Linked DNA regions of Homo sapiens: region 2 is linked to region 1. The links are contacts of gene promoters, found by promoter capture Hi-C in blood cells and fetal thymus (Javierre and others, 2016). All regions are on one chromosome and are shown on one strand. The core of a region is centred on a gene start or on the middle of the fragment in contact, and the rest is flanking DNA. Distances in the headings are between cores, read along the strand shown.

Region 1 (4,076 bases), core at 1,542-4,041:
AGGAAAAAATTCCTGTTATTTTCTTCCTATTGTGGTTATCAGAAAGATTCTTAAAATTATTACTTGGGTTTTTAAACTGATTGAAAAATTAAAACTCTAATGGAACTTTTAGTCCTATCCAAGCACAAATGTCTAGATAAAAAACAAAAATCTGCCAAAAAACAAAAATCAAATCAAACAAACAAAAAAAGAAAGGCTTTAACCATGATCCAGTTTCCAGATGCCAATATCCATAAATGGGTAGGAGATTATGAATTACTAATTCCCATCTCCCCACCAATAAAAAGCAAACCAGCTCAGCAGTGAAAATTCCCAGAAAAGCAAGGTTTCTTCTTAGTCCTGAAGCAGCCATCGCCTAAGTGCTGCTCCCTGCAGCCAGCAGCATTAATGGACGCTGCACTGCTGTCCTTCCCTGGAGACAGCAGCCAGCACTACTCAAGCTTCTCACGTAGCAACCAGAGCTCCAGAGCCAGCAGCTGCTGCTGCCTTGTATACTCACCCCTGTGATCCAACCCAAAGGAACAACCTTCTCTTTACCCCACCCCCACTCCTTACACACACTTTTTTTTTTTTTTTTTGGACCAGTGCTCCATGCCAGAAGGGCTGGAATTATGCTTTTAAGAAAGAAACAATCCTAAGGTCACCCTTTTAAACCAAGGCCTTTTATTAGAAAAATCAACATTTACCAAATTCTAAATATCCATTTTAATTAAGCCAGCAGTTTAGGAGTGAAGATTAAGCTTTGGTCTTTTGAAAGCCAATTTCCCAAGCACTCTACAATCTAATTTAAATTTGCAGCTAGAAACAGAGCCTTGTGTCATGTCCTACCAAAGGGCATAATTCATTTTTCTACACATAATGACAGTCTGAGTAAACCTTAAAGACTCTAATCCCATAACAGGCCAGAATTTTTGGCTACAGAAGAGAACTAATGATCCTGAGAAAACTGGAAGAAATCCAATAGAAAAAAAAAAGCCCTACGTCCTCTATGGAGCCCAGAAACCTCTGATTACGTGGGTATTCTCTGCTTTAGTCCTAGCTCAGATCCCACACATCTAAAATTACCACTTAGAACTTTCTGTGACCTAAAAACATTAATAATATAAAATTAACAACCAAAAAATAATTTCAAATAGGGAGTACACACTCTCCTAAAAAGCTCAGCACACTCCACTCAGCTGGATCCTCCCCAATCACAAGTATAGCTATGTAACATCTGTCCAACAAAGAAATGTAAATATGACCTTGGTCACAAATATGTCATCTAAAAACTTGTTTAGTCAACTGATGAAGGTAATTAGCACAGAACTTGGGGATTCGTTCAGTACCTATGTGCAGGAAGGAAACTGGAGAAATGAACTTAAATATAGACAAAGCCCAGTGGAACCCAGAGGTCTGGGAAAGAAATGAGTTACCGGTGAATACATTGCACAAGTAACATGAGAAAGCAGAAAATGCAGGTCATACACGCACCCCTGACCCAGACCAGCAGAGCTGACTGCAGCATCCATATCCAAGAGAAAGACCACTGACGCCCAAGAAGTGAGACAAGCAAGGACTCTATAGAATCAATTAGCATAGAAGGGGCTTTCCCAACAGTTTAACTTTCCCTCTCATGCGATTTACCTACTTGAACCAGGGCTCTTTCCTACACTCCTCTTCACATTCCCGACTTACACGCAGAGGGAAAGAGAATTCATAAAGGGAATATTTTTCTGCCTTTGAAGATATTCTCACAAGATCGTTCTCCACGCCCAAGGCAAGTAAAACGACACAATCTGGCTCAACTCCAGGCTCGAACCCTACACATTCAACGAGGCTATCTCAGACACGCTGTGGCACACGCCACGGGGAGCCAGAGAACGTGTGGTGGGGGTGGCGAAGGTAATGCCTTTGGGAAGCAGCCATCTGAGGTGGGAAGCCAGAAAACGAGAGGGAAGGCGTCCAGGAAGATTACGGAGGGGAGATCGCGGCCCCCAGAGCGATCAGAGTTGTCTGTCACAAGGCCGCGAGAACGGGGGTAGGGAGTGGGGGATCGGGGAGAGAAAAAAAGTATGCCTGTGTATTTCGAGCGGAGGGCAGCAAGAGGCCTCTCCTCAAGGGAAAGGTAAACGTGGAGTAGGCAGTTCCCAGGAAAGGGGGTGAAGAGGCGTTGGGGGAGGGGAAGCGTCCTGACCCAGGAAAAACATGAAAGGGGGAGTTGGGTCGCCTAGATTAGAGGGGGATCTCTCTCCCTGGGAAAATGGGGTGTTGCAACGGTGTGTGCAAGGCGGCGAGGGGGGTGAGAAGTGGCAGCATCCTCCTAAGAGCTTGGGGAGGGCCAGGCCCACGACCCAAGGAGAGCGAGCGCGGGGAGACGGAGGAGGTGACCCTTCCCTCCCCTGGGGCCCGATCGTGAGGTTCGGTCTCTTTTCTGTCGGACCCTTACCTTGTCCCAGGCGCTGCCGGGGCCTGGGCCCGGGCTGCGGCGCACGGCACTCCCGGGAGGCGGCAGGACTCGAGTTAGGCCCAACGCGGCGCCACGGCGTTTCCTGGCCGGGAATGGCCCGTACCCGTGAGGTGGGGGTGGGGGGCAGAAAGGCGGAGCGAGCCAAAGGCGGGGAGGGGGGGCAGGGCCAGGGAAAGAGGGGGGCCGGCACTACTGTGTTGGCGGACTGGCGGGACTGGGGCTGCGTGAGTCTCTGAGCGCAGGCGGGCGGCGGCCGCCCCTCCCCCGGCAGCGGCGGCGGCGGCGGCGGCGGCGGCGGCGGCGGCAGCTCACTCAGCCCGCTGCCCGAGCGGAAACGCCACTGACCGCACGGGGATTCCCAGCGCCGGCGCCAGGGGCACCCGGGACACGCCCCCTCCCGCCGCGCCATTGGCCTCTCCGCCCACCGCCCCGCACCCATTGGCCCACTCGCCGCCAATCAGCGGAAGCCGCCGGGGCCGCCTAGAGAAGAGGCTGTGCTTCGGCGCTCCGGCTCCTCAGAGAGCCTCGGCTAGGTAGGGGAGCGGAACTCTGGTGGGAGGGGAGGTGCGGTACACTGGGGGGATGGGTGGCTAGGGGGGCCGTCTGGTGGCTTGCGGGGGTTGCCTTTCCCGTGGGAAGTCGGGAACATAATGTTTGTTACGTTGGGAGGGAAAGGGGTGGCTGGATGCAGGCGGGAGGGAGGCCCGCCCTGCGGCAACCGGAGGGGGAGGGAGAAGGGAGCGGAAAATGCTCGAAACCGGACGGAGCCATTGCTCTCGCAGAGGGAGGAGCGCTTCCGGCTAGCCTCTTGTCGCCGATTGGCCGTTTCTCCTCCCGCCGTGTGTGAAAACACAAATGGCGTATTCTGGTTGGAGTAAAGCTCCTGTCAGTTACGCCGTCGGGAGTACGCAGCCGCTTAGCGACTCTCGCGTTGCCCCCTGGGTGGGGCGGGTAGGTAGGTGGGGTGTAGAGATGCTGGGTGTGCGGGCGCGGCCGGCCTCCTGCGGCGGGAGGGGAGGGTCAGTGAAATCGGCTCTGGCGCGGGCGTCCTCCCACCCTCCCCTTCCTTCGGGGGAGTCGGTTTACCCGCCGCCTGCTTGTCTTCGACACCTGATTGGCTGTCGAAGCTGTGGGACCGGGCCCTTGCTACTGGCTCGAGTCTCACATGAGCGAAACCACTGCGCGGGGCGCGGGGGTGGCGGGGAGGCGGGCGTTGGTACGGTCCTCCCCGAGGCCGAGCGCCGCAGTGTCTGGCCCCGCGCCCCTGCGCAACGTGGCAGGAAGCGCGCGCTGGAGGCGGGGGCGGGCTGCCGGCCGAGACTTCTGGATGGCGGCGGCCGCGGCTCCGCCCCGGGTTCCCACCGCCTGAAGGGCGAGACAAGCCCGACCTGCTACAGGCACTCGTGGGGGTGGGGGAGGAGCGGGGGTCGGTCCGGCTGGTTTGTGGGTGGGAGGCGCTTGTTCTCCAAAAACCGGCGCGAGCTGCAATCCTGAGGGAGCTGCGGTGGAGGAGGTGGAGAGAAGGCCGCACCCTTCTGGGCAGGGGGAGGGGAGTGCCGCAATACCTTTATGGGAGTTCTCTGCTGCCTCCCGTCTTGTAAGGACCGCCCTGGGCCTGGAAGAAGCC
Region 2 (3,761 bases), core at 1,124-3,623, 1.9 Mb before region 1:
AGGGTTGATGAAACAGAAAAGAAAATGAACAAATGATGGAACCCAGTCCTTGAGGCAAAGGAGGCGATGGGATCTCAAGCACAAATAGAGGACTTAGTCTTAAAACACCATTTCTTTCACAGAATTAGAATAAAAGGCAAAAGGATAGGGTCAGCTAAAGATCAGTTGGTAAAGGATAGAAGAGGAAGCTGCGATGCCTTAATTAATGGCTGCAACTTAGTGGAGCAAAAGTCAAGGTAGGAGGTTGAGGAGAGGAATGAATATGAGGAAGACATAAAGGGAAATGGACAAGAGAGCTGCCTGAGGATATGGGGAGGGCTGAGCCACGCTGAGGGCCTATTTGGTGGCACACTAGTGTAATAGTGTCAAAAGCACAATGTGTCTATAATGGAGCTGGCAGGGCTTTAGGTTACCACAAGAAAAGTGCAGTCTTGCTCTGCATGGTTAGAGTCCTCAAGGAAAGAGGATTTCCTTTCTGTACCACACACTCAAAGAGAGGCTGACAAACCAGAGCAAGTTCAAGGATGGTAACTGGGATGAAGGTGTGAGGAAATCCCAAAAGTGATCATTCTGAAGCCGGTCTGAGATGGAGTGAATAGGCTATTCCTCAGTCTGCCAAGATCATGGTAATACCTACTGACTACCAATTAACAGAGCAGCACCTCCAGTATTTATTGTCCCTTGATTATACAATCAGGCCTTAATCGCACTGGAGAAGGGTGGGGAGATCAGGAGATAGAAAGGGGAGAGGAAGCGGTGGCTCACGCCTGTAATCTCAGCACTTTGAGAGGCTGAGGCAGGCGGATCACGAGGTCAGGAGATGGAGACCATCCTGGCTAGCACAGTGAAACCCCATCTCTACTAAAAAAAAAAAAAAAAAAAAAAAATTAGCCGGGCATGGTGGTGGGCACCTGTAGTCCCAGTTCCTGGGGAGGCTGAGGCAGGAGTATGGAGTGAACCCAGGAGGCAGAGCTTGCAGTGAGCCGAGATCGTGCCACTGCACTCCAGCCTGGGCGACAGAGTGAGACTCCATCTCAAAAAAAAAGAAAAAAAAAAAAAGAGGAGAGGAAGACATTAGCGAACGTCATTTCCATGGGTAGAAGTGGACGACAGAGGCAAACTGAATTCCAAATAAAATCAGAGGTCAGGGTTAATCTATTAGAGACACTAGTCAAAGAATTTTGTTACTGCTCAATTCCACACAGCAAATTCATTTCTGCCCTCCCGTCATCAGGATCCTGATTCTTGTCCCCTTCTTCTGTTTCATCCTATCAGTTACCAAGTCCAGCAAATTCCACCTCCTTAATCTCTCAACTCCTCCCACTCCTCTCCATCTCCACTGTCACTGCCTTCATCCAGATCTTCATCCTGTCACCTGGATCACTGCAACTATACCCAACTGGTCCCCTGCTTGTCTTTTTCTGTCCAGTGTAATCACCACATTGCTGCCTGGGTAATTTAAAACAGATGAGAGGATGTCGCATCTGTTTTAAAATCTTCAGTGTCCTGCTCTCCACCCCCGCCCCCACATTTTAGAGTCCAAACTTCTGGGCCTGGCAATATTAATGACTACTGTTTATTGAGTATTTATCATCTACCAGTGTCAAGTGAGTAACATATCACCTCGTACAGTTTTTATTTCCCCTTCTTAGAGATGAGGAAACTGAAGCTTAGAAAGAAGTGACTTGCCCAGGGTCACAAAACTAGTTCAGTGGCAATGGGAATATTGGTACGCAGCTATCTTGGATCCCAAAGTCTATGTGCGGGTAACATGCTATTGTCCACAGGGCCCTTCACGATGTGGCTAGTGCTTACCTTTCCAGTCACCTCTCATCCTACACCTCCACACTGGCACTCCAGTGAACCACAAGCAGGCCATGCATTCTCACCTCTAGCCCTTTGCTCATCTCACTTCGAACCACTCTTCACCTGTCAGATCTCGTTCGTCCTTCAGGTCTTGGCTAAAGCAGCACCTCCTCACTGAAACCTTCTCTGATGAGTCAGCCTGACTTATGCGTACCCTAAGTCCTCCTCTACCAAACCTCCGCAATAGCTTCATGCCATACCGTTGCTATCTCCTTGGCTTAAAAAAAAAGTAAACTCTTTGAGGACAGGGATGTGTATCTTACTCATTTTTGTATTCCCAGCTTGCAGCGCAGTGCCAGACACACAGCTGAAGCTCAATAAATGTTTATTCTCTATAATGAGATGCTGGCTGGGAACGAAAAACGGAACCTGTGGTTGAGTAATGGAAAGTCCAGTACTCAGCTCTTAAAGGATTTCAAAATCATGTCACATGAGGGCAGGAAGGAGTTGGCCAAGATAAATGGAAGAGGAAGGGGAGATGTTCGAAGCAGCAGAAGCAAAGGGCTATAGGTGACACACACCTGCAAGCAGCTTAACAAGACTGGAGCAGCGTTGGGGGATGGGAAAGCAGTTTAGCAACATGAGCCATTCCAAGACTGGACTTTTCTTTATTCAAGTGTTAGGTCACTTCCTCAGGGAAGCCATCCCTGACTAGCTAGCTTTTATGCTTCCCCCCAATTACTGTCCATCCCATGACCCTGTACGTTTCAGAATCGGAAACACCTACCAACCCTTACTGACAATGCCGCCACCGCCACCACCACCACTATTATTAGAAGGTGCCATGAAACAGGGTTCTTTTTCTTCTTATTTTACTGATAGATCACCAGTGCCCACAATAATGCCAGGCACATAACAGGCAAATATTTGTTTTATTCATTCATCCAACAAATATTTATTGAGCATATATAATATGCTAGGCATTGCTCTATATGCTGGGGATATAACAAAACATGACAAAATTTGCTGTCACTGTTAAGTTTACTATGAGCAAATACATTAAATATGCTTAGCCTAGAGAAGAAAAGGTGAGAAGAGGAAGACAAACTAGCAGCTTTCAATGATGTATAGGGCAATTAAATGCAGGGGTGATTCCAAGAGCCTGAAGGAGGAACAGTGAGCTAAGATTACCGAGTAGCTGCTTTCAGCTCAACCTAAGAGTCAGAACTGGGGGAGGACCAAACAGGAGCAACCAGAAGTAGAAAGCTTTCTGTCACTGAAGAAATCTGGCCAGTGGGCAGAGGTGTCAGAGAAAAAAATCTAAGTAGTCAATGAAAAAGGGAGTCTGGGATCCAGAGGTCCCAAACTGACAGCCACAGATATGACTGGTTACAGTTGAACAGGGTTTTGTAAAAACTGAGTTGCCAATGTTTTTAAACGCCAGAATTACTTGCCAATTTTTAAAAAATGGCATCAGTCGCCAGTGTTTAAAAATCAGGAAACTGCACGCACGTGCACACACACACGGTTTGGCTTGTACTTCTCCAACATCATGTACGTTAGTACTGTACTTATAAAATTAGAAGTTTGACTCTATTTCTGACAAATGTTCTAACACCTATATTTACCTTACCGGATTGATTCTTATTGTGCATTAGTTTCTAACCCTGTAACCAAGGAATCGAGAATCTTCTTTCTCAGAAAGTAAACTTATTTAACCTCCTCACTTAAACAAATGGCGGATTATCATTCCCATTTTGCAGATGGAAAAGCAGCTTAGATGGGGAAGGAACGTGCCAGAGACAGCAAATCCAGACACAGCCAGGCTGGGAATCCAAATGTCCCATCTCCCGTGTTCCAACACTGAAGATTCTGAGCACTGCCTACCAAGAGGACAGGAGGGGCTGACTTAGGAAATCAGCACGAGCTTCCAAGTCAGAAGACCCCGGACTGAA

Evidence for each region. The method cuts DNA at HindIII sites, captures the fragments that hold promoters and counts their contacts. A CHiCAGO score of 5 or more calls a contact.
Region 2: a fragment that was not itself captured here is called in contact with the fragment with the promoter of SETD5 in region 1 in 1 of 17 cell types (monocytes); the score reaches 7.2 in monocytes.

Annotation. Positions count from the first base shown.
Region 1 is chr3:9,396,330-9,400,405 of GRCh38, reverse strand. It overlaps SETD5 (SET domain containing 5), which reads right to left and starts at 2,791. Exons shown (of 23, transcript NM_001080517.3): 1 at 2,429-2,791. THUMPD3-AS1 (THUMPD3 antisense RNA 1) reads left to right here and starts at 3,783. Exons shown (of 4, transcript NR_132781.1): 1 at 3,783-3,846. RefSeq lists an enhancer at 1,924-1,973 and a silencer at 2,584-3,893. The HindIII fragment of the contact is 6,018 bases long and covers 743-4,076 here.
Region 2 is chr3:11,272,642-11,276,402 of GRCh38, reverse strand. The region is part of intron 1 of ATG7 (autophagy related 7); the gene reads right to left. Among named protein-coding and RNA genes, the nearest start is that of ATG7, 2.1 kb to the right of the region's middle. RefSeq lists an enhancer at 3,221-3,761. The HindIII fragment of the contact is 1,403 bases long and covers 1,672-3,074 here.